Linked DNA regions of Homo sapiens: all the other regions are linked to region 1. Evidence: promoter capture Hi-C in 16 types of primary human blood cells and fetal thymus (Javierre and others, 2016). All regions are on one chromosome and are shown on one strand. The core of a region is centred on a gene start or on the middle of the fragment in contact, and the rest is flanking DNA. Distances in the headings are between cores, read along the strand shown. Region 1 holds the start of KTN1-AS1 (KTN1 antisense RNA 1). Region 2 holds the start of ARID4A (AT-rich interaction domain 4A). Region 3 holds the start of PSMA3 (proteasome 20S subunit alpha 3). Region 4 overlaps ACTR10 (actin related protein 10).

Region 1 (5,178 bases), core at 1,032-3,531:
TTAATTATATGTGTTAACTATAGCTAATTATATTATACTACACTTTAAAACCTAGAGGGTTGGTGTTAATTCATAATAGGGCTTGCCTATTATGCATAACACTAGAGAAGCATAGCATTTCTAGTGAATCTTTTTTTTTTTTAAGACAGAGTCTTGCTCTGTTGCCCAGGCTGGAGTGCAGTGGCACCATCTTGGCTCACTGCAACCTCTGCCTCCTGGGTTCAAGCGATCCTCCTGCTCAGCCTCCCCAGTAGCTGGGATTATAGGCACCTGCCACCATGCCCAGCTAAGTTTTGTATTTTTAGTAGAGCTGGGGTTTCACCATGTTGGCCATGGTGGTCTCGAACTCCCGACCTCAGGTGATCCACCCAGCTCGGCCTCCCAAAGTGCTGGGATTACAGGTGTCAGCCACTGCGCCCGGCCTCTAGTAAATCTTTTTGTTTTGATGTGAATAAATAGAAAGCTTATAAAAAATAAAGCATTCAACCACTTCCCTTTCTATAGTCAAAGTTCAAACGCCAGAAAAGCCGAAATAGGTGATACAAAGTCATCCTTTAGTATAAGCAGTAGTATGTTTTGAGAAAATCCTAAACTCCACTCATTGTCTTACTTACAAGTGCACCGAAATATTATTGCCTGTAAATGACATTGCGGTTTTACTGGTCAGGAAAATGAATGATATAAATTTTTAATTCTAACCTAAAACCTGCGTTAGTACTAACCTGAGGAAATAACATGGTTGTTTGTAAGCTAATCAAGAGCCCTTAAACTCCATTACATAAATGATACACTTACCCTTTGTATTAAGGGACTAACGGCTTCGCTTTTCAACAAAGCTGGATCTTCTGGCACACGCTCAGAAGATAGCCAGTACTTCAGAGACAGATTGCTTTGAGGGCACTGGAACCGCTGAGGGGCAGAGTAATCCTAATGAGAAAGAAAAAAGAGGACGCCTCTGGAGTTAAAATAAGACAATGCATCTGTGGAGAACACGGTGACTGAAGACTGGCAGAATTCTCAATATCTCAGGCCACTATACACTGCGCAGTTTTCATTTGTATTTTGGAGGTGCTCTAGAAAACTTAGAAATGATTAGAATAAAAAGTATGGATACTTTTAACCAGCCCATGTACAGGAAATTCTGTTGGTGTAGAAACGGTTCTGCTGTTCATTCCTTAACTGCTTCTGTTCCCACTTTGTCAGATGTAGGGCGAGGTGGTGGTGGTGAGTCCTAATTTTTTCTATCTCTATCCACAGTCTGGAATCGTTAGGATTATTTTAAGCCTTCATAACATTTGCGGACAGCTTGGAGTGTTTTGTACATGTAGTGGGGCAGTGCCTGGCCTCCTGTGAGAGATTGATCATCGGTAAACAATCCACACGAAACTCACTTGCCAGTGGACGGGGAGGATCGCTGCCATCCTTTCAGCAAAGAGCAAACGAATAAGGAGAGATCCGGGCCCATCCCTCCTCGCGCAGCAGTTTCTAGATTTTTACCCCGGCTTCATAAATGGCTACCAGCTGGCAGTCACAACACTTTCATAATGTTTGCACACAACTCATTTGGGTCGCTTTCTTTTCTTTCCTTTTTTTTTTTTTTTTTTTGAGAGAAACGGAGAGTCTTACTCTCTCGCCCAGGCTGGAGTGCAGTGGCGAGATCTCGGCTCACTGCAACCTCCGCCTCCTAGATTCCTGCGATTCTCCTGTCTCAGCTTCCCAAGTAGCTGGGGCTACAGGCGTGCGCCACTATGCCCAGCTAATTTTTTGTACTTTTTTTGGCAGAGACGGGTTTTACTATATGTTGGCCAGGCTGGTCTCGAACTCCTGACCTCAGGTGATCCGCCTGCCTTGGCCTCCCAAAGTACTGGGGTTACAGGCGTGAACCACCGCGCCCGACCATTATTTGGGTCGCTTTCTAATTTCTTTCTCCGTTTGTAGCTAGCGTTGCCCGAAGGAGATTTCAGAGAGATCCCCTGGAGAAAGGGACGGGGGATGTCGTTTTCCAGTAATTTCTGGGGGAAATCTGGGATAGTCAGGGGGTAAATCTAGTGCCGTTTGCTGAAGTTAAAAGGCGTGGGGAGCCAGGTGGTGCCCTGGAGGGAGGGCCGCGCGAGACGAGACCAACCTTCGGGACAGGGGAGAGCGGGGCTACTGAACGCAGGGGATTCCGCTGAGCCTCCAGCCCCTGAGCGTCCACCTTCGGCCCAGCTGGGGGACGCGGTCTCGGGAAGAAAGCCCGGAATCCCGAGCCGGCCAGCCGCGAGCAGCGAGTACCGGAGCGCGTGGGCAGGCGCGCGGAGGCAGAGGCGGGCCGGCGGCTGTCCCTTTAAGGGGCCGGTCTCCCGGCGCCGCCGGCCCAGACGCCAGGACGTGCCGGGTCCGCCCCGCCCCGCCCCGAAGCCGCCCGTTTCCTGCCGAGCGGCGCGACGGCACCTGAGCGACTGCGGCGGCGGCGGCGGCGGCGGCGGCGCCTCGGAGCGGGCGGCCCGGGCTGTAGTGCCGGCGCCGCCGCGTCTTCCCGGTCTCCTTTCCCGGCCGCACAGGGTGAGGGAGAGCAGGCCGCACCGGGACGGGCGCCGGCGGCGGGGAGCGCGGGGGGAGGCGGCGCCGGCCGCGGGGTCCTGGGGCAGGCGGGAGGGCCGCGCCGGGCGGGGGGGCGCGGCCGCGGGGCCCGGACGCCGCCCGCTGGGTAGGCCTCGGGCATCCGGTTGCCGCCGCGGGGCTCTTGTTGGGGCCGGGACGCCGCAGGGGGCGGGCTCGGAGGGACCTCCTCGGCCTCGCGGGGCCGCTCTGGGCCCGACCCCGGCTCTGTCGCGGCACCCGGGGCGCGGCCGAGGGACACCCCCCACCCTCCCCAAGGACGACTCTCCCGAAGGCGAGGTCGACCCGAGCGGGCCCTGGGGTGACCGAGGCACCTATTTTTAGCCAAGCCTGAGGGCCCCCGGGAGGGAAGGCGGATTACCGCCTCCTCGGCCGGTGGACGGAGGCAGCGCGTCTCCGGCGGCGTCCCCGGGCCGGAGCTGGGCCACACTTACGCCATGCTGGAGTTCCAGTCCTCGCCGCTGCCTCCGGCGGTCTGGGCGCTCGCCCCCTTCCCCGGCGCCCCTCCCGCTGCCCTTTGCGAGTCCCCAGGTCAGGGCGGGAGGCGGTTGGGCACGGAAAGCAGCATGAGGGGGGACTTTGGAAAAATCCATGGACCACTCTCGACACCGGCGAAGTTATCCCTTCCTGTCCCCGAGGGGTGTGTCCTAGCGATTCGGCCTGACCCCTTCAGTTTCCAAAAGTGAGATTTTTGGCCTTGGGGACCTCGCCGGAAAACTACGCGGGAAGTCTAGAGAAGTCGTCTGGCTCTCAGCCATACGTCTGGTGTGGGATGTGCAGCCCCGCATGCTGGCGGTGAAGGCGCTGGGTGCACTAGATGTGGGCAGCCCCGGACGCGGGCAGCGGCGTCCCAGCCGGCCCCAGTTGCACCTTGACTAGGTTAGGTTGAAAGTAAGCTGTTCAGTGTTGGCCCTTCTTTCCTGTGGGAGGAAGGAGGAATCTAAATTCAGAACTGTGTTGGCAAACGGATTCCTTAGCCGCTATTTAAGTTAGTAGTGCTTAAAGAGCTACGGTTGAAGTTAACTGTTAAGGTGTGTGTGTGTGTGTGAGTGTGTGTGTGTGATGACTTTGTGGAAAGCCTTGAGTAAAGAGCTACGGTTGAAGTTAACTGTTAAGGTGTGTGTGTGTGTGATGACTTTGTGGAAAGCCTTGAGAAATGTAGACACTCATGGCCAGCCCAGCTAAAGATAAGCATCTTCGGTGAACTAAAGGTTCTGAATTGTATAGGAGTTGACTTAAAGTTAGAATTTTTGCTAAATTAGGTTGCATTTGTTTTCCTTAGCTTACCTAGCAGGCTAATGGCAACAGTGTCTCCAGTTTGGTCCGAAGCAATTGCTGGTGAGACTTGGGATAATGATCCCAAGCTGGTGAGACTTGGGATAATGATCCCAAGAATAACACTAAATTACTCTTGAGTATTTTGGGTAGACATGCCTTGCAGTAGACTTTCATATTTGATGTGCTGCCTGATAAAAAAGGCTCTTTTTTTTTTTCCTTTTTCCTTTTTTTTTAGTTTAAGGATCTAACCTGAAATAGCTGGGTCTGTTCATGAGTTTCCCTCCCACCCCAACATTGAGTTTCAAATGTCTCTTCTAATTTTGTAGCCTTCATCAGACATAACAATACCTTATCAAGTGAGCTTAGAGAATAAGGTGTTCTACTTGATTTACTTGAGGCTGATAATGAATTTGAAAATATAACAAGATCTATTGAAAAATTTTCTTAATACTTGAAAATTATAAAGAATATCAAGTATTTAACTCTTAATGATTCAGCGTCAGCATTATGAAGAGACATTTACGATTTTGTTTCCAATTTAGATCTTTCTGTATTCTTTTAATACCAGTAGTCTCTTCTGTTTGATGTTGTGTTTGTCCCTAAAAATGCCTCACTTCAGTCTCCCTTCTAGTTTATAGGCTTTAATCTGCTTTTGGTAGGGAGATCGTTTTAATAATTATATTTTTAATATCAGTCAATATGGCTTTTTAAAAGAGCCTAAGACGTGAAAACCTTTTTGAGACTTCTAAAGAACCCATATTAAGATTGTCACTGTTCTTAAGTTCTTAACTTGAATGTTAAGTTATGGTTAAAAGTTCTTAATCAGCCTGTCATGGTTAAGATGACACGTAGAATACTGAATCATAATTGTTTTTTTAAAAGTTGAATGTGTCTTATACATTTCCTATGTGTAAGTTAATTTCTTAACTTGAATGGAACATGTGTTTTTAATTGTATGCCTATAATTTTTATAGCAAATGAAGTTTTAACCTGAAAGATCTCCAATACTTTGTTAAAATATTAAATTGTTAATGAACTTAAGTGGTTCTAGGAAGGTTTTGGTTCTCTTGGGAATCTGACCTAATATGTAATAAGGAAATGAGAAAAATCGTGCTTTGCAAGATCGTTCATATATTTGAGAATACACCTTATGACCTGCTTGTTCTCTGTACTGTTTTTAGTGACTTTGAAGGTAAATCCAGAGTATACTTAGAGGATACAAGCAAGTAACTATTTCTCTAGAAGTGACATTGGTGATCACTCATGCTCAAAGAGAATTGCATTTCATTGCTTCCTCTT
Region 2 (5,178 bases), core at 1,530-4,029, 2.7 Mb after region 1:
TGGTGCCACTGACTTCAGCCTGGCGACAGAGCGTGACTCTGTCTCAAAAATAAAATAAAATAAACATGAAATAAACAGAGAGTAATAAGTCATTACCAAAAGAACAAAGCGAGAAATGCCCATTAAAATGATGTATAACATAACCACATTTATTTAACAACGTAGTCCAACATCAAATGGCAAATTCCAATAATGCAAAAACCACGATTACTTTTGCAACGACCTTCTTAGACACAATATTTTGCAAAACATGTACAAGGATATTCACTGACATATTACTGCCATTATAGAAAAATAAACACGTTACATAAATTATGATATATTTATCCCACAAAACACTATGAAGACATAAAAGATGCTTTACGATAAGATATTTCCAATATTCCCAATGTTTTCTATAAAGAATAGACGGTAATGAACAACACTAGAATATTTGGTAAAACAAAACCAACAAAAAAGACAAAGCCTTTTGTATAATATATAACTATAGTGTAAACCGTAACTACCTTTTGGAGGAGGGAAGACATTTTTGTATTCTTCTTTGGGCTTTTTAATAATTTCCAAATGTCCATGCATTATTTGGATTCAATAATAACAGTTTAAACTTTGATCGTAGAATTATGGATGCTTACCCCCTAGAAAATTCAGTAATATATTGTTTTATAAGGTCTTTTAAAAAACTGCTTCACTCCTACGAGATTGCGCCACTGCACTCCAGCCTCGATGACAGAGAGAGACTCTGTCTCCAAAAAAAAAAAAAAAAAAAAAAAAAAAGCCTCACTCCTAAACACTCCCATTTACAAGATCTTTTCTATATAAGAACTTTTTAAATAGGCGGGTGGGGGGGAGGAAATCACAAAAATACGCATAATGTTTTATAACAAAAACATGAGGTATATCAAAGTCCAGAAATGAGAACCACGTAAATGGGTAAACAAGTCCATAAGGATGTCCTAATTTTGGGATTTCATTCTAAAATATTACACTAGAAAGCTAATTATACAGACTCATTTGAATCTGACCAAACAAAACATCTTTTAACTACCCTTCCTCCCATTCTGGTATTTCTTTACTAATCCATAGAAAGTTTTTCCAGGTAGTCCCCCGCAATTCTAAGGATTTTTAGACTTTATGACTCACCTCAGTAATCACTGAGATGTTCTGTTTTCTTCAGCACAACTGCCAAAAAACCCAGTAATTGTTAAGTCACACAATCATTTTCTAGTTATGGGCGCCACCAATATAGCAGTAGGGTTTAAAACAGAGGTATTGAGGGTAACTATTAGGATCTATCCAGTGTGACTAGGTCACTCACTAGAAATGCCAACATGCATTTCACGTTTTTATGAATACTTTTGAGCAAAATTACTGTTACGAATAAAAAACTGATTCTGCTCGGCTGTTTTCTTACTGAGAAAATTTAGTCCACGTGGATTACTGACGATATGTCACATTTTAAAAATTACTCCATTCTATAAAACTAGTCAATTTTATACTCCAATTCCGCTATTTAAAAATGTGTGTTTCGTTTAACAGAATATAAGATGTTAACAGAAAAAGATCAACGTCTATCTTATCGGGGACGTCCTTTTGTCTAAGATGTTTTCAGTCCCTGCAAAACCACTGTTTGCTTTCAAAAAGTAGCATAAGCCTCGTGCAGAGTGACAGACCCTTGTCTAAGGTCACAGAAGAAGCGTCTGCGCTGGCAAGTAAATTCCTCAGCATCCAGAAAGCCAGCGCTTTCTCCAGTTTCCTCATAGCTTTATCCCGTGAGGAGCACGCGGAAACCTCTACCCATGCAGGATGTTTCTAAGAACCACTTCTTCCCTGTCTTAACTAAGAAGGCTCCCACAGCTGGTGCCAATCAGGTGGAGAACATGGCAAGTCCCCGAAATGCACTTCCAAAGACAGGAAAGATTGCAGTGGGACAGAACCCAGAAAATCTCTCACATTCTCGAAAACCCGAAAGAGAACCTCCAAGAAAGACGTTTGCCTCTCCTCCACCTCTTTATCTCGGCGGGAGAGGAAGCCTCGCCCCCATTCATCCCGCCCCTTCTCCCCACCCCGCCGCAGGGAGAAGTTTACCATGGCTGCCTGCGGCCCCTTCACTTCCGGTGCCGGTGCCGCTAGGGCTGCGCCATCCCCCCAGTCAATCGGACAACCATAGCCTCCAACTGACCTTTCTGACAGCTCTGAGACTCCTCCGGCCACGACTAGGTGCTGTCCTGGAGGAAACGGTGGAGGACGGCCGCACAAAAACCAATCTACCTGATGAAAACTCCGTTCCCTTCTCGCCAGAAACATAAAATGCGATGGAGCTACGGCCACCGCTGCCGAGACAAAATGGCGCCGACAAGCTGGTTTAGCGCAAGCGCCTTGGACAGACCCTGCCCCGCCCCCGTGCAAGCCCCTGGCTGCAATTCTGGGTTCCGTTTCCATGGGACACTCCGCCGCCAATCCTCGTGTCGAACTGCTCTTCCTGACCCCTCAATTCACCAATCAGTGCCCAGTCAAGCACATCCGGAGTCGTCTCTACCAATCATTTCTCAGGACTTGCTTACTCAATAACCAACTCTCCAATAAAGTTGGTTTTCGGAAAAAGCCAATCATAAGTGGAAGATGTCCTACCTGCTGTTTTTCTCACCAATCCATGAAGTTTCACAGCTACATCCAATGAGGACGGCAGGTAGCGAGGTCCTATCCGAAGCTCTTCGGCGTCATGAGCAGCCAATAGGAGTTCGTGTAGAAGCGAGTCTGCTCAACAGCTTGTTATTTGGTGGATTGTGGCAGTAAATCGGGGCGAGTGGGGAACCCGGCGCAGGAACTGCAGCCGCGGCTGGGAGTGGTGCTGCCCGGACGGGGGCCCACGGAGGTCAGAGGGGAGGAGGACTCTGGAGCTGACAGCGCGCACTTCACCCGCAGTTGGTAGGTGGGGAGAGGGGAATCCGGGGATACTGAATGGACGAAGTGGCAGTAGCAGCAGCTGCTGCTGCCCGAGGTCCCGGTGCAGTTGGAAGCTTTGGAGGTGGGGAGAGGGATGCTAGGCAAGTGGCACGGCGAGCGCAAGGGAAGGGGCCAGCCATTGACCAGCGGCAGCAACTGCAGGAACCGCCGCCGCAGTTGCAGCCGCCTCCTCGTCCGCTTCCTCGGGTTCCCGGGAAAATGGCTGTGGGGCTGGCCGCGCCGCTAAGTTTGCTTCCGCGCGGTGAAGAGCGGGCTGCTTGGGGGAGCCGTCCCCCAACTCCGCGGCGCGTCCACCTCTGCGGAGTCCGTGGCAGGACTCGAGGGGCTACGAGCTGATACCTCTCTGGGCTGTACAAAAAGTTGAGGCGGGCGCTGGGAGGAGGCAGCGGCTGCTGCGGTGCGGCTCCCCTCCCCTCCCACACCCTGTCCGGGCCACCTCCCCTCCTCCTCCCCTCCGCCCCCCGCCCCCTCCCCCACGCGGGTCCCCCGGGGCTCTGGCGGCTCCCGGCTGAAGGCCGCGGCCCCTGCCCCTTTGGGTGAAGGAGCGCTTCTCCTTTCTGACATGGTGCAGAGCGAAGGAAGGAGAGCAATGGCGCCGTGACACTCCGCTGCCGCCACCGCGGGCCCGGGGCGGGCCGAGGGGGCCGAGCGGCGGAGGCGGGGCGCGGGCCGAAGTCGGGGTATCCGGGGGACCGCGGAGCGGAGGCTCGGCGGTCGTCTCCGCGGGGGACCTGGGGAAGCCCGAAGGGAGCTCTGGCCTTTTCCGGAGCTATCTGTCCTGGAGCTCCGAGTTGAGCATTCCGGGTCAAAGTGGCCAGCGAGGCGGGGGCGCGGTGGGCCGCTGGCGAGCTCCGGGGCGGAACGGGCTGCCCTTTGGCGCTCGTGGGGTTCTCGCTGCCCCCTCAGCTCCTGCGTCCTGGCTGCCCTCGTAAGGGGTCTTGTCCCTTGGCTGGTGAGGATTCTGCCCCTCCCCGCTGGCGTTTGTTTACTTTCTTTCCCTTGGTCGCTCCCCGCAGTTGACTGATTATGTCTGTGCCTGTCTTTCCCCCTCCCCATAGTTCTAGCGACTGCGAAGATAGCTCGCTGAGCTGGAACCCCACAGATCACCAACAAAAATGAAGGTAAGTGGAGTCAACTCTGCCCCGATCCTCGCGCCCTGAACACTGCCAATCCTAAGGCTAGTGCCGTGGAATGTCATTTGTTTTGCTACTCAAAATTGATGTTCCTACTGATCAGCAGTTTCGGCATAGGAGGATGTGTTGAATGGGTGAAAAATGATCTGTGTGTCTAAATGCGGAGTTTAGGCCCTCTCTGTAGCAGTACTTTGGAAAGGCTGGTGCAGCCTTTCAATTGTTGTCCATTCGGATAGTATTTTTAAACACTTCCTGTGTTGGCAGCAACCTTTGCAGAAGTAAAGCTTTTGTCCTGCTTTGGTTCTTTGGGGGATTTTTTGTAAATTTTTTTTCTTCCCGTGTGCCAATGCGATTTTCTAAAAGAAAGAATACGTGGATTAAGTAATGAAGGTATCATTTCTTCTGTGTGTAAAATGAACTTATGTGGCTAAAATATTTGAAGTTGAAGTATAATAATAGTTTTAGTTAAATCTTTCCAATAAGTATTTTAAAACATATACTAAAAAGATACATATTCTACTGAGGATGACTGCAAATATCAGTATGTGGATGGTTAAAGGGAAAGGATCTCATATAGCGTTCTTGAATGCTGTGGCCATTGAATGTTTCAGGTCAGATTTTTGTTTGCCAAAAGCATTCCTATTCAATTTGTATTTTTTGTAAATGCACTTACTTTAAAAGGTACCCAATTCCTGTCTTATTTACTGTTTCAGCATATTAAGCTCTGAAATATAGCATTTTCCCAAACTTTCTCGTGGTTTTCTATTTTCTCGAAGTAAATGACATATTTAACCTTCTTTAATATTACTTGGGAAAACTTATTAGAAAACAAAAAATCATTTTCTACTTCAAAACGTATCTCCAAAGTGTACACTGTTAACTTTGCACTTAACAATGTTAAGTTGAACTTGTATGGATACACTTTAACTTCCGGAAAAAAAAAAAAAAGGTAAAATGACAGATTGAGATAGCAATCATCCTGTTACTGTAAAAATTAAAATGAGTGGTAGAGTGACATTTCTTACATCTTTCTATGTATCATTCTGGTCGTGTCCATTTGCTGAAAGTAGATGTTTCTTAG
Region 3 (5,178 bases), core at 1,939-4,438, 2.7 Mb after region 1:
GAGTAGCTGGGACTACAGGCATGCAACACCACGCCCAGCTAATTTTTGTATTTTTAGTAGAGACAGGGTTTCACCATGTTGGTCAGGCTGGTCTCAAACTCCTGACATCAGGTGATCCGCCTGCCTTGGCCTCCCAAAGTGCTGGGATTATAGGCGTGAGCCACCGCGCCCGGCCGAAAGAACCCCCAAATTCTTAATTATTAATAAATATTGAGTGCACTAGGCACTCAAATAGTGTTTATCACACACAAGTAATGATGTTAATTAAAAGATTAACTGATACCTAAACAAGTTTTGAGTACTTACGGTTTACCTCCAAGGCCAAACCTTCTGCAACTATTAACCTTTAGCTTTCTTCAACACTTTCTTGGACTATCTTGGTCTAAATCCGAACTCCCCAGGAAAGAACTGCAACTAGAGGCCAGGTGCAGTGGCTCACGCCTGTAATCCCAGCACTTTGGAAGGCCAAGGAGGGTGAATCACCTGAGGTCAGGAGTGTGAGATCAGCCTGGCCAACATGGTGAAACTCGGTCTCTACTAAAAATACAAAAACTAGCCTGGCATGGTGGTGCACACCTGTAATCCCAGCTACGCGGGCAGTTGAGGCAGAAGAATCGCTTGAACCCCGGGGGTCAGAGGTTGCAGTGAGCAGAGATCATGCCACTGCACTCCAGCCTGGGTGACAGAGCAAGATTCAGTCTCAAAAAAAAAAAAAAAAAACCACTTACAACTAGAATGTTTTAACGAGGGTTAGGTAAATTAAGTGGCTAGTCTTCCAAGTCATTCAAGTCCTTTTATCTATCGGTTTGTTCAAGAATAAAAACATCAATTGTAATGCTTCATTAGCAGGAAAAAGCAAAAGTAACTGAAATTCCTTTTTCCCCCTTACTTTCTATACCCAATTCTGCAAGCCCTATGTCTTAGCCCATATTCTGCTGCTATAACAGAATACCACAGACTAGGTAATTCATAAACAAGAAAAGTTTATTTGGCTCATGGTTTTAGAAGTCCAAGAGCATGGCACTGACATCTGGCAAGGGCATTGTGCTGTGTTATCCCATGACAGAGGATCAGAAGAGCAAGCGAATATGTGAGACAGAGAAAGCTGAAATCCAGTGAAACTCACCCCTTTATTAGGAACCCACTTCCAAGATAACTAACCCATTCTGAAAATGTCATTCATCCATAGTGCCCTCATGACCTAATCACCTCTTAAAGGCCCCACATCGCAATACCATTACATTGGCAATTAAATTTCAACACGTGTTTTGAAGGGGACATTCAAACCATAGCTCCCTACACATCTGAAATCCATCTACATATTTCCACCTCCACTGCCACCACTTTAGTCCAAATCACTCTCCATTACTGCTAGCTCACAAAAGTGCAATAACTTTCCAACTAGTATCCCTGCCTCTCTTCTTTCCCTTAGCTATCATTCTTCACACAGAAACAAGAGGTCATTTAATGATTTAAATCAAATCATATAATTCTCTTGCTTTAAAAACTCCTGATAACCTCACAGTAGAAAACCAATAATAAATGTGAAAAGAATGATGGAATTAGAAAATCACCATTTGGCAACCATTGTAATAATCAATTCAAATAAGAATCATCAGATATTAGAATTAATGAGTGAAATGTTGAGGCGTAAACAGGATGTGTACATATTCTCAAAGTATTTCCTCACAAGATACTAATTACAAAGGGAAAAATGAAACATTATCAGGGATAAATCTTCAGCAAGTGATCAAAGTTAACATTACCAGCAATAAAACAACTAACATCATGTCCCTTCTAATGTAATGCTCTGACATGAATGAATACAAGGTCATTTCTGTAGTATTCCTGCCATAAATGCATCACTTGAATCAAATAACAAAAAAATCAAACCTAAATTAAGGAATATTCTACAAAATAAATGGTTTGTATTCTTCAAAAGTGTTCATGCCATGAAAACTGAAGAAATACTAAGCAACTATTTTCCAGACTAAAGCAGATTGGAAACATGACAACTGAATGCAAGGTGTGATCTTGGATTTTCTTTTGCTATGAAGGACATTATTGGGCCATTTACCAAAAAAAAAAAAAAAATGCATAAAGTTGATAGATCATAGTATTGGTAATTTTCTGATTTTCACAATAATACTGTGTCTCTGTGAAATAATGTTCCTGTGTTGGGGGAAAATACACACTGACGTATTAATATTTAGGAGTAAAAAAAATGCTGATGCCCTATTTACAATCGGATTAAAATTCAAACCACTTCAAGATTTGGTCTCCTGTGCACTTGTTCTCTTCCTGTCATTCTTCCCCACTTAATCATTATGAGAGGTCACTCTGACGTGACAGTTCCCAGCGCAAGCCAAGTTTTTTACTGTTCCCTAAACCACTGTCTTTTGTTACCCTATTTTAGTTTAAATATCACTCACTCAGAAAGTCATTCCCTGAGCACACTGCCTAAAGTTAGTACCTCCATTGTCTATTAAAGCACTCTTTCTTCTTACTATTTTGCTTATTTATTGTTACCTATTTATTCCCACTGAATGGAAATTACATTAGAAATGGGGGTATGCTCTGTTCACGGCTTTTTCTTGAACACGTGGAATATACTAGCGCTCAAAAAATATCTTTAATCAGACTTATCTTTAACTCTTACCAAAAAGCGTTATACTCATAGAAAGAGCACTAATACTTCCGTAAAATTCTAAGCTGAATTCAAAGACGATACCCTTTAAGTGAAACTTCACGAGAGCCTGAGCACAAGGAGGTGAAGTGGATGCCATCAAGATTCTGGGTCAGGGTCGGGACGCGGAGGAAGACAGGTTACTTCGCGCCTACTGCTTTTTCTACTTTTTGTGAGAGTATACCAGCATCTCTCCCTTTGGCTTAAAGAAAGAATAAAGTGAGGAGAGAATAATAATATAAAAGATAAATAATAATTCCAAGGAAAGGAATAGAGCAGCTTCTCAGATACCACGACGCCAAGCGGCTCAAAGTACGCGAACCGAAGGAGGAGCCTTTGCTTTCCCCAACCCCGCCTCCATTGCTTCTGCACATGCGCGCCGCCAGCCTCTCGCGGCCCGCTTTTTTCCCACAATACTCCTCGTCCTGGGGGCCGGAGCCGCGGAACGAGCCACAGAGAAAAAGGTTATTGGTTGGCAGTTCAGCCAATGAGCGGGCCTGTTACTAGTTTGCGGCATCCTGTGGTATAGGGGAAGCGCTCCGGGCCTGGAATCCCTACGCGTCCCTTTGGGTTTAGCACGATGAGCTCAATCGGCACTGGGGTGAGTTCGCTGTCTGTCGGTGTAATAGTTTAACCTAAGGATTGGGGTTGAAGGGAACTCGGACAGACCACATGGGGTTCGCGGACCCGGGGTGCTCTGAGACCGCCTTCGGCTGGGTGGGCCATTTGCAGCTGTTTGGAGACCGGTCGTCTTTATCCCCTATATGCTAGGCCTGCGTCTCAGGTGACCGTGACTCCTGAAGCTTTTCAGCGCAGGTGTAGCCGGCTTGGCGTCGCCGCAGTGAGGTTTGGAGCCGCTTTGGATTGCTGAGTCACTTTCTTCAGCCACTTAGGGAAACCGAAAGTGGAAACTCGTGGGGCTTGAAATAGTGTGTTCTCTTGAGAACCACCGAGGCAGTGAGATTTGGGATTCCGGGGTCTGGAGATCGTGCTTTTTGTGGACTGCGTTTGCAGTTCCTAGGGTGCTGCTGATTCACAGGCCTTCTCTGTCTTTAAGTGTGCAGATCATTGACCGCTCAGTTTAAGAGTCACTGGAAATCCTGTCGGAACAGAACTAATAAAAATGGTCTGAAAAACAATCTGATGAATCCTTCAGTTTTTCCTTTCTCGTTTTTCCTATACAAATTACCTAACAGCGCTTGTAGGCATTTATTCCGTAAACGTTTAAATGGTTACTTAGGAACTTAACAGCTTCAGACTTTTCATAGACTGTTGAGGATTTTGCAGTGGGACTTGTTAACTTGTTTGGCTTTCCTTTGTTAAACGTATTGCATATGTGCAGTCAGTTTACTCCTTTTATGTACTTCTCTATATAGAAAATACAGTTTCTAAAAGATTTATTGGTTATTTGCACTAGAGTTATTGAATAATGAGTTTCTCAGTTCCTCAATTTCTACTTCTTAACAAGATTCTCATGCTCAGCCTTAAGTTCAAGTACCGGTGTTCTAAATTTGATAATAGGCAACTTATGTCTGGAATGGTTTAATCCATTCAGTTATGAATGCTAAAGTTCTGCCATACTTTTCTTGGATAAGTAAATGCTCAATATTAAATCTTGTAGCAAACTGACTTTGCAATTATATTAATATTACCTTGAATTAATAGTATTTCATTCTACAAACCTTTTAAAGAATACTTGATAATGTAACCATGTGGGATATTTTAGTAACAATGGTAGGGTTAATGATCTGGGTTTAACAGATCAGGAAACAGACTCAGAAAGTACCACTGCTGAAGGCTTTTCTTCTGTCTTCATTTCTCCCAAGAACTCCAGATACGAATATTTGTTTGTCTGCTTGACATGTCTGTTCACTTGATCGTTTAATAGTCATTTCGTACTGCATGTGAAAGTAGAGCTCTGGGTTTTCTCCTCACCTTGCCATTTTGCATCTACTACAGTCTTCAGCTCAGTGAATGGTCATATGAAAAAATCTGTTATTCATCTTTAATTCCTTTTTTTACTTTACTCCCAGAACCAACGCTTTAGCAAGTTTATTTTTTTATTTTTATTTTGTTTGAGACGGAGTCTTGCTCTGTTGCCAGGCTGGAGTGCAGTGGCACGATCTTGGCTCACTGCAACCTGTGCCTCCCAGGTTCAAGCAATTCTCCTGTCTCAGCCTCCCGAAGAGCTGGGACTACAGGTGCGCACCACCACGCCCAGCTAATTTTTGTATTTTTCGTAGAGATGAGGTTTCACCATGTTGGCCAGGATGGTCTCCATCTCTTGACCTTGTGATCAGCCCGCCTCACCCTCCCAAAGTGCTGGGATTACAGGCATGAGCCATCACGCCTGGCCTAGCAAGTTTATTTTTATTATTTTTATATTTTACTCTACTCTCAAAAAATATTCCCTTCTACCTCTTCTCTCGTCTAAGCTACTACCGCTATCTTTGGAACACCTTATCTTTGCTTCTGTTGTTCTCTCTACAGCT
Region 4 (5,178 bases), core at 1,257-3,756, 2.6 Mb after region 1:
AGGCCCAGAAAGCTTCTGTTGAATTGCCCTCGTCGCCGCCCCTTGTCATCACCCCAAACCCAACAAACCCTTTGGGATCATCTGTGTAGGGGATGACAACCGTGACCTAGACCCCGCTTACCCTGGGCTCCTCAGTTGAGGAAGGCAGCCAACCGAATGTAAATGCTCGATGACGAATTTCATCATAAAATATTGAACGGAGTTTATTTTGGTGCTGAAAATGGAAAGATGTTTAAGACAGGGCTATCGCTGCTCAAGAATTAGGGAGACTGGGCACATTAAGAGGTGAAACCCTATAGATAAGATTCTGGAAATCCTTTGTTGGCTCCCCTAAACTCGAAGGTTAGATTTGACATGTTTTAAACAAACCAACTTGTAAACAATAGAGAGGAGGTTCTCAACCTTTCGGATGGCATAGATCTCTTTAATGGCTGGATGAAAACCACAAATGCACAAATCTTAAGGTACTTATACACAGTTTCAGGGAATTGGCAGACAATCAATGTGGTCCTGGGACCCTAGATTAAGAGTCCTTGTGATGGGCTCAACAGAGAGGGAAGTAACAGGCAATTACATCATATATGTATTTATGAAAATGAAACATTTGAAAAATCTTTTTATATCTCTAGGCACTTCCTGACGTGTAGTAGGTATTTAATAACTATTTATTGACTAAGTGGTTAAAAGAGCCTATTTAAAAATTGGACCCCAGGAACTCCAGAATTGGATTAAACATAGTCCTTGGTTAATGACATTCTCTTATTGTTCTATGCGAGGCCCTTCCTTATTTATATTTTCTTATTAAAATTATTTTGAAAGCGTAATAAACAGTTCGAGGCTTCTAGTCAAAGATAATTATTTTGGCTGTACTTGGAAGAAATAAGCAAAAAGCTATATTTGAAAAAGACAGCAGGAGGATGATAAGATAAATGTATGAAGTAAAAAAAAGGAATTGAAGTCTAATGGCTTGCATTCTGAGATGTTTGAGGAGCACTGATGCAAGTAAACATGGAGACGGGAATAGGAGGAGATGGAGAGAATTATTTGGGAATACGAGGAGAGCAGTATCAAAAACTAGACAGGACAAGAAGACAGGATGTTAAGACTAAACTAGTATGATGATCATTTTTAGCAACGTTTTTAGCAAATTTTTGTTTTACTAACATGAAACAAAAATGGAAATACCTAAATACTCAAGAAAAGAGCATCGTTTTTAAAATAATGAAATATGTGGTTTTAAAAATAATACTGTAATTCCAGCAGTTTGGAAAGCTGAGGCGGGCTGACCACTTGAGCCCAGTAGTTCAAGACCAGCCTGGGCAACATGGGGAAACCCAGCTCTACACAAAATACAAAATTTAGCCGGCGGTAGTGTCGTGCCCGAAATCCTAGCACTTTGGGAGGCCAAGGGGGGAGGATCGCTTGAGCCTGGGAAGCGGAGGCTGCAGTGATCTGAGTTTGTGCCACTGCACTCCAGCCTGGGCGACAGAGCGAGACCCTGCCTCAAAAAAAAAAAAAAAAAAAGTGATAGCAATGAAGATTATGTTAATATGGGCAGAAGCTTACTGTATGAGTTAATTATGTATGAAGTGTGATTAAAACTATGTCAAATATATATGCATAATCATAAGAAGTAGACTGAAAGTGAATACACCAATATGGAAGCTAACAATATTAGAATGATGGAATTATGAGTGATACAGATGAATTATATGAATGAAGTCACATAATGTAGTACAGATTCAGAGTTGTAGATATGTCTTGCCTAAATTCTGCTAAAATTAACAACTAGGAAAAAAGTTGGCCAGGCGCGGTGGCCCACGCCTGTAATACCAGCACTTTGGGAGGCCGACGCGGGCGGGTCACGAGGTCAGGAGATCGAGACTATCCTGGCTAACACGGTGAAACCTCGTCTCTACTAAAAAAAAAAAAAAAAATTAGCCCTGCGTGGTGGCCGGCACCTGTAGTCCCAGCTACTCAGGAGCCTGAGGCAGGAGAATGGCGTGAACCCGGGAGGCGGAGCTTGCAGTGAGCCGAGATCGCGCCACTGCACTCCAGCCTGGGTGACAGAGCCAGACTCCATCTCAAAAAAAAAAAAGTAAATGCTGCCCTAAAATAATACATTTGTTTTTTTCAGCATCACGAATTTCATAGAATTTTTTTCTGTTAATACACAAGCATTAATAAATAGTATTATTAGTTTTGTGGAGTGATTTTTTTTGATCCCTTAAAATACATCAGGTATTTTCAAATGTTATTGTGGCCATTGTTTTGAAACAAATACAGAGAAAATTAGTTTCTGTGACAAATATTTAAAAGAATACTATAAGTTGTTTCAATTTTCCATTTATTTGCAGGTGTGGATTTGCTGGAGAAACTGGTCCAAGATGTATAATTCCTAGTGTGATAAAAAGAGCTGGGATGCCTAAGGTATTTAAAAAAAAATATTAGCAAAATAAATGCCATACTATAAAATGTTTTAAAATATGACTTCAAGTAAGATTGATTAAAACAGTACTAAAGGCCAGCCGTGGTGGCTCACGCCTGTAATCCCAACACTTTGGGTGGCTGAGGCGGGTGGATCACCTGAGATCAGGAGTTTGAGACCAGCCTGGACAACATGGTGAAACCCTGTCTCAACTAAAAATACAAAAATTAGCCGGGAGTGGTGGCAGGCACCTCTAATCCCAGCTCCTCAGGGGGCCGAGGCAGGAGAATTGCTTGAACCCGGGAGGCGGAGGTTGCAGTGAGCCAAAATCAAGCCATCGCACTCCAGCCTGGGGGGCAAGAGCAAGACTTCGTCTCAAAAAAAAAAAAAAAAAAAGAAACAAGAAACAGTACTAAATATATACTTTGTGGCTATATTTCCAAGGAAAAGTTTTTCTTTTTAAATCAACTTTATCAAGGTCTAATTTTGCACACCATAAGTATATCATGTTGTACAAGTACCACCACAATCCAGTTTTAGAATGTTTTCATCACCCCAGTAAAATCCCTAATACCCGTTTACAATTAATCCTCATTCCTATCCTCAGCCCATTAGGGTGTACCTTCTGTTTCTATAGATTTGTCTTTTCTGTACATTTTATGTAAATGGAATCATATATCAAGAGAAAAATTTTAACTTCAGTAAAATACTTTTATAAGTCTTATAACCACTGAATTATTTTATTATTTATAATATATCAGATATTTATTCCCTTATTTACAGTTTCAAAACCCAGAGAATTTTGAAAACAAACTTTCAAAAAGTTTCTTGCCACAGCTAATTTGGCAGATTAGAAATTACAACCAGTAGAAAGAATGATTTTGCATGTTATAAAATTCACTTGTTAAAAAATGAGATGTAGCTGTTACCACAGTAACATTATATATGCATTCCAGAAAATACCTTTGTTCTGCAAAATGGTACATTTTTAAAAAACAAAACAAAACAGGCTTATGGGAAAAATAAGCTTGAGGTAGTCCATATAAAACCTGTGTAACTTTGTAATCAGAGGACTAGCAAAAACAATAATTGATGCCTCCACAAAATTTAAATAGGATTGGCAGGCAGCTGAGTGTGGCTGGAGGCTGTCTTAGGGAATATTAAAAATAAAATTGTGGGCTGGGCAGATTACACGCCTGTAATCGCAGCACTTTGGGAGGCCGAGGCGGGCAGATCACGAGGTCAGGAGATCGAGACCATCCTGGCTAACACAGTGAAAACCCATCTCTACTAAAAAAAAAAAAAAAAATTAGCCAGGCATGGTGGCAGGCACTGGTATTCCCAGCTACTTGGGAGGCTGAGGCAGGAGAATGGCGTGAACTCGGGAGGCGAAGCTTGCAGTGAGCCGAGATTGCGCCACTGCACTCCAGCCTGGGCGACAGAGCGAGACTCCATCTCAAAAAAATAAAATAAAATAAAATCGTGGAGGTGGTGCGCACCTGTAGTCCCCAGCTACTTGGGAGGCCGAAGTGGGAGGATCACTTGAGCCCAGGAGGTTGAGGCTGCAGTGAGCCAAGATTGCACCACTGCATTCCACCATGGGCGACAGAGTGAGACCCTGTCTCAAAAATAAACAAATAAAAATAAAAGTCATGGATTGAAAATGTTAGCCAGTGGGTTCTGAGTCAGTGCAGATGGTAGCAAGCTCTGAGCCAGTGGGACTGTTATTAAGTAGCAACTAGGAGGAAATGCAACCCAACAGAGTCATGGATCCACTCTGAGGCACGAATTGCTGGTGTAGGGAGTTATTTACACTTTTCTTATGAATAGATCTGAAAGCATATCTACCTGTGTGATAACTGAGTTGATGACTTTCTTTTTCTTGATGAAAGTTATACTTCCATTATAATTATAGCTTGTCTTGCCTAATATTAACTAATACAACTATAACATTTTTCTGACATTATTTCCTTTTTTAGCAATCGCATATAAGCATATTTGGTTTTATAAAAACACATGTTGGCCAGATGCGGTGGCTCACTCCCAGCACTTTGGGAGGCTGAGGCAGGTGGATCACCTGAGGTCAGGAGTTCCAGACCAGCCTAACCAACAAGGAGAAACCCTATCTCTACTAAATATACAAAATTAGCCGGGCATGGTGGCACATGCCTGTTAATCCCAGCTACTCAGGAGGCTGAGGCAGGAGAATCACTTGAACCCGGGAGGTGGAGGTTGTGGTGAGCTGAGATTGTGCCATTGCACTCCAGTCTGGGCAACAAGAGCGAAACTCCATCTCAAAAAAAACAAAAACAAAAACAAAAAAAAACATGTTATAGCAGAATAGACGAGACCAGCAGTTTATATTTGGCATTTACATACATCAGAAATCTTTTTTTTTTTTTTTTTTGAGGCGGAGTCTTGCTCTGTCGCCCAGGCTGGAGTGCAGTAGCATGATCTGGGCTCACTACAAGCCCCACCTCCCGGGTTCATGCCATTCTCCTGCCTCAGCCTCCCGAGTAGCTGGGACTACAGTTGCCCGCCGCCACGCCCAGCTAATTTTTTGTATTTTTTAGTAGAGACGGGGTTTCACCGTGTTAGCCAGAATGGTCTGTATCTCCTGACCTCGTGATCCGCCCGCCTTGGCTTCCCAAAGTGCTGGGGTTACAGGTGTGAGCCACTGCGCTCGGCCCAGAAATCTTTTTAATTACACTTGATTAAGGAATCATTTCATTGATTTTAAATTTTTCTGC

What was found. The method cuts DNA at HindIII sites, captures the fragments that hold promoters and counts their contacts. A CHiCAGO score of 5 or more calls a contact.
Region 2: the fragment with the promoter of ARID4A here is called in contact with the fragment with the promoter of KTN1-AS1 in region 1 in 3 of 17 cell types (fetal thymus, non-activated CD4 T cells and total CD8 T cells); the score reaches 9.7 in fetal thymus.
Region 3: the fragment with the promoter of PSMA3 here is called in contact with the fragment with the promoter of KTN1-AS1 in region 1 in 1 of 17 cell types (total B cells); the score reaches 5.6 in total B cells.
Region 4: a fragment that was not itself captured here is called in contact with the fragment with the promoter of KTN1-AS1 in region 1 in 1 of 17 cell types (naive B cells); the score reaches 5.9 in naive B cells.

What each region holds. Positions count from the first base shown.
Region 1 is chr14:55,577,811-55,582,988 of GRCh38, forward strand. It overlaps KTN1-AS1 (KTN1 antisense RNA 1), which reads right to left and starts at 2,282. Exons shown (of 3, transcript NR_027123.1): 1 at 2,126-2,282; 2 at 796-927. It overlaps KTN1 (kinectin 1), which reads left to right and starts at 2,397. Exons shown (of 44, transcript NM_001079521.2): 1 at 2,397-2,544. RefSeq lists enhancers at 1,622-1,741, 1,752-1,841 and silencers at 2,282-2,541, 2,602-3,241, 3,421-3,715. The HindIII fragment of the contact is 5,026 bases long and covers 462-5,178 here.
Region 2 is chr14:58,295,776-58,300,953 of GRCh38, forward strand. It overlaps ARID4A (AT-rich interaction domain 4A), which reads left to right and starts at 2,780. Exons shown (of 24, transcript NM_002892.4): 1 at 2,780-2,925; 2 at 4,023-4,085. The coding sequence starts at 4,080. It overlaps PSMA3-AS1 (PSMA3 antisense RNA 1), which reads right to left and starts at 2,362. Exons shown (of 4, transcript NR_029435.1): 1 at 2,180-2,362. RefSeq lists enhancers at 2,010-2,733, 2,030-2,449, 2,470-2,519, 2,630-2,719 and a silencer at 3,350-3,869. The HindIII fragment of the contact is 5,118 bases long and covers 1-3,015 here.
Region 3 is chr14:58,241,655-58,246,832 of GRCh38, forward strand. It overlaps PSMA3 (proteasome 20S subunit alpha 3), which reads left to right and starts at 3,189. Exons shown (of 11, transcript NM_002788.4): 1 at 3,189-3,287. The coding sequence starts at 3,267. RefSeq lists enhancers at 2,743-2,792, 2,833-3,032, 3,201-4,098, 3,213-3,662. The HindIII fragment of the contact is 17,362 bases long and covers 1-3,487 here.
Region 4 is chr14:58,200,498-58,205,675 of GRCh38, forward strand. ACTR10 (actin related protein 10) reads left to right here. Exons shown (of 13, transcript NM_018477.3): 2 at 2,358-2,430. Among named protein-coding and RNA genes, the nearest start is that of ACTR10, 2.9 kb to the left of the region's middle. RefSeq lists an enhancer at 1-34. The HindIII fragment of the contact is 1,894 bases long and covers 1,560-3,453 here.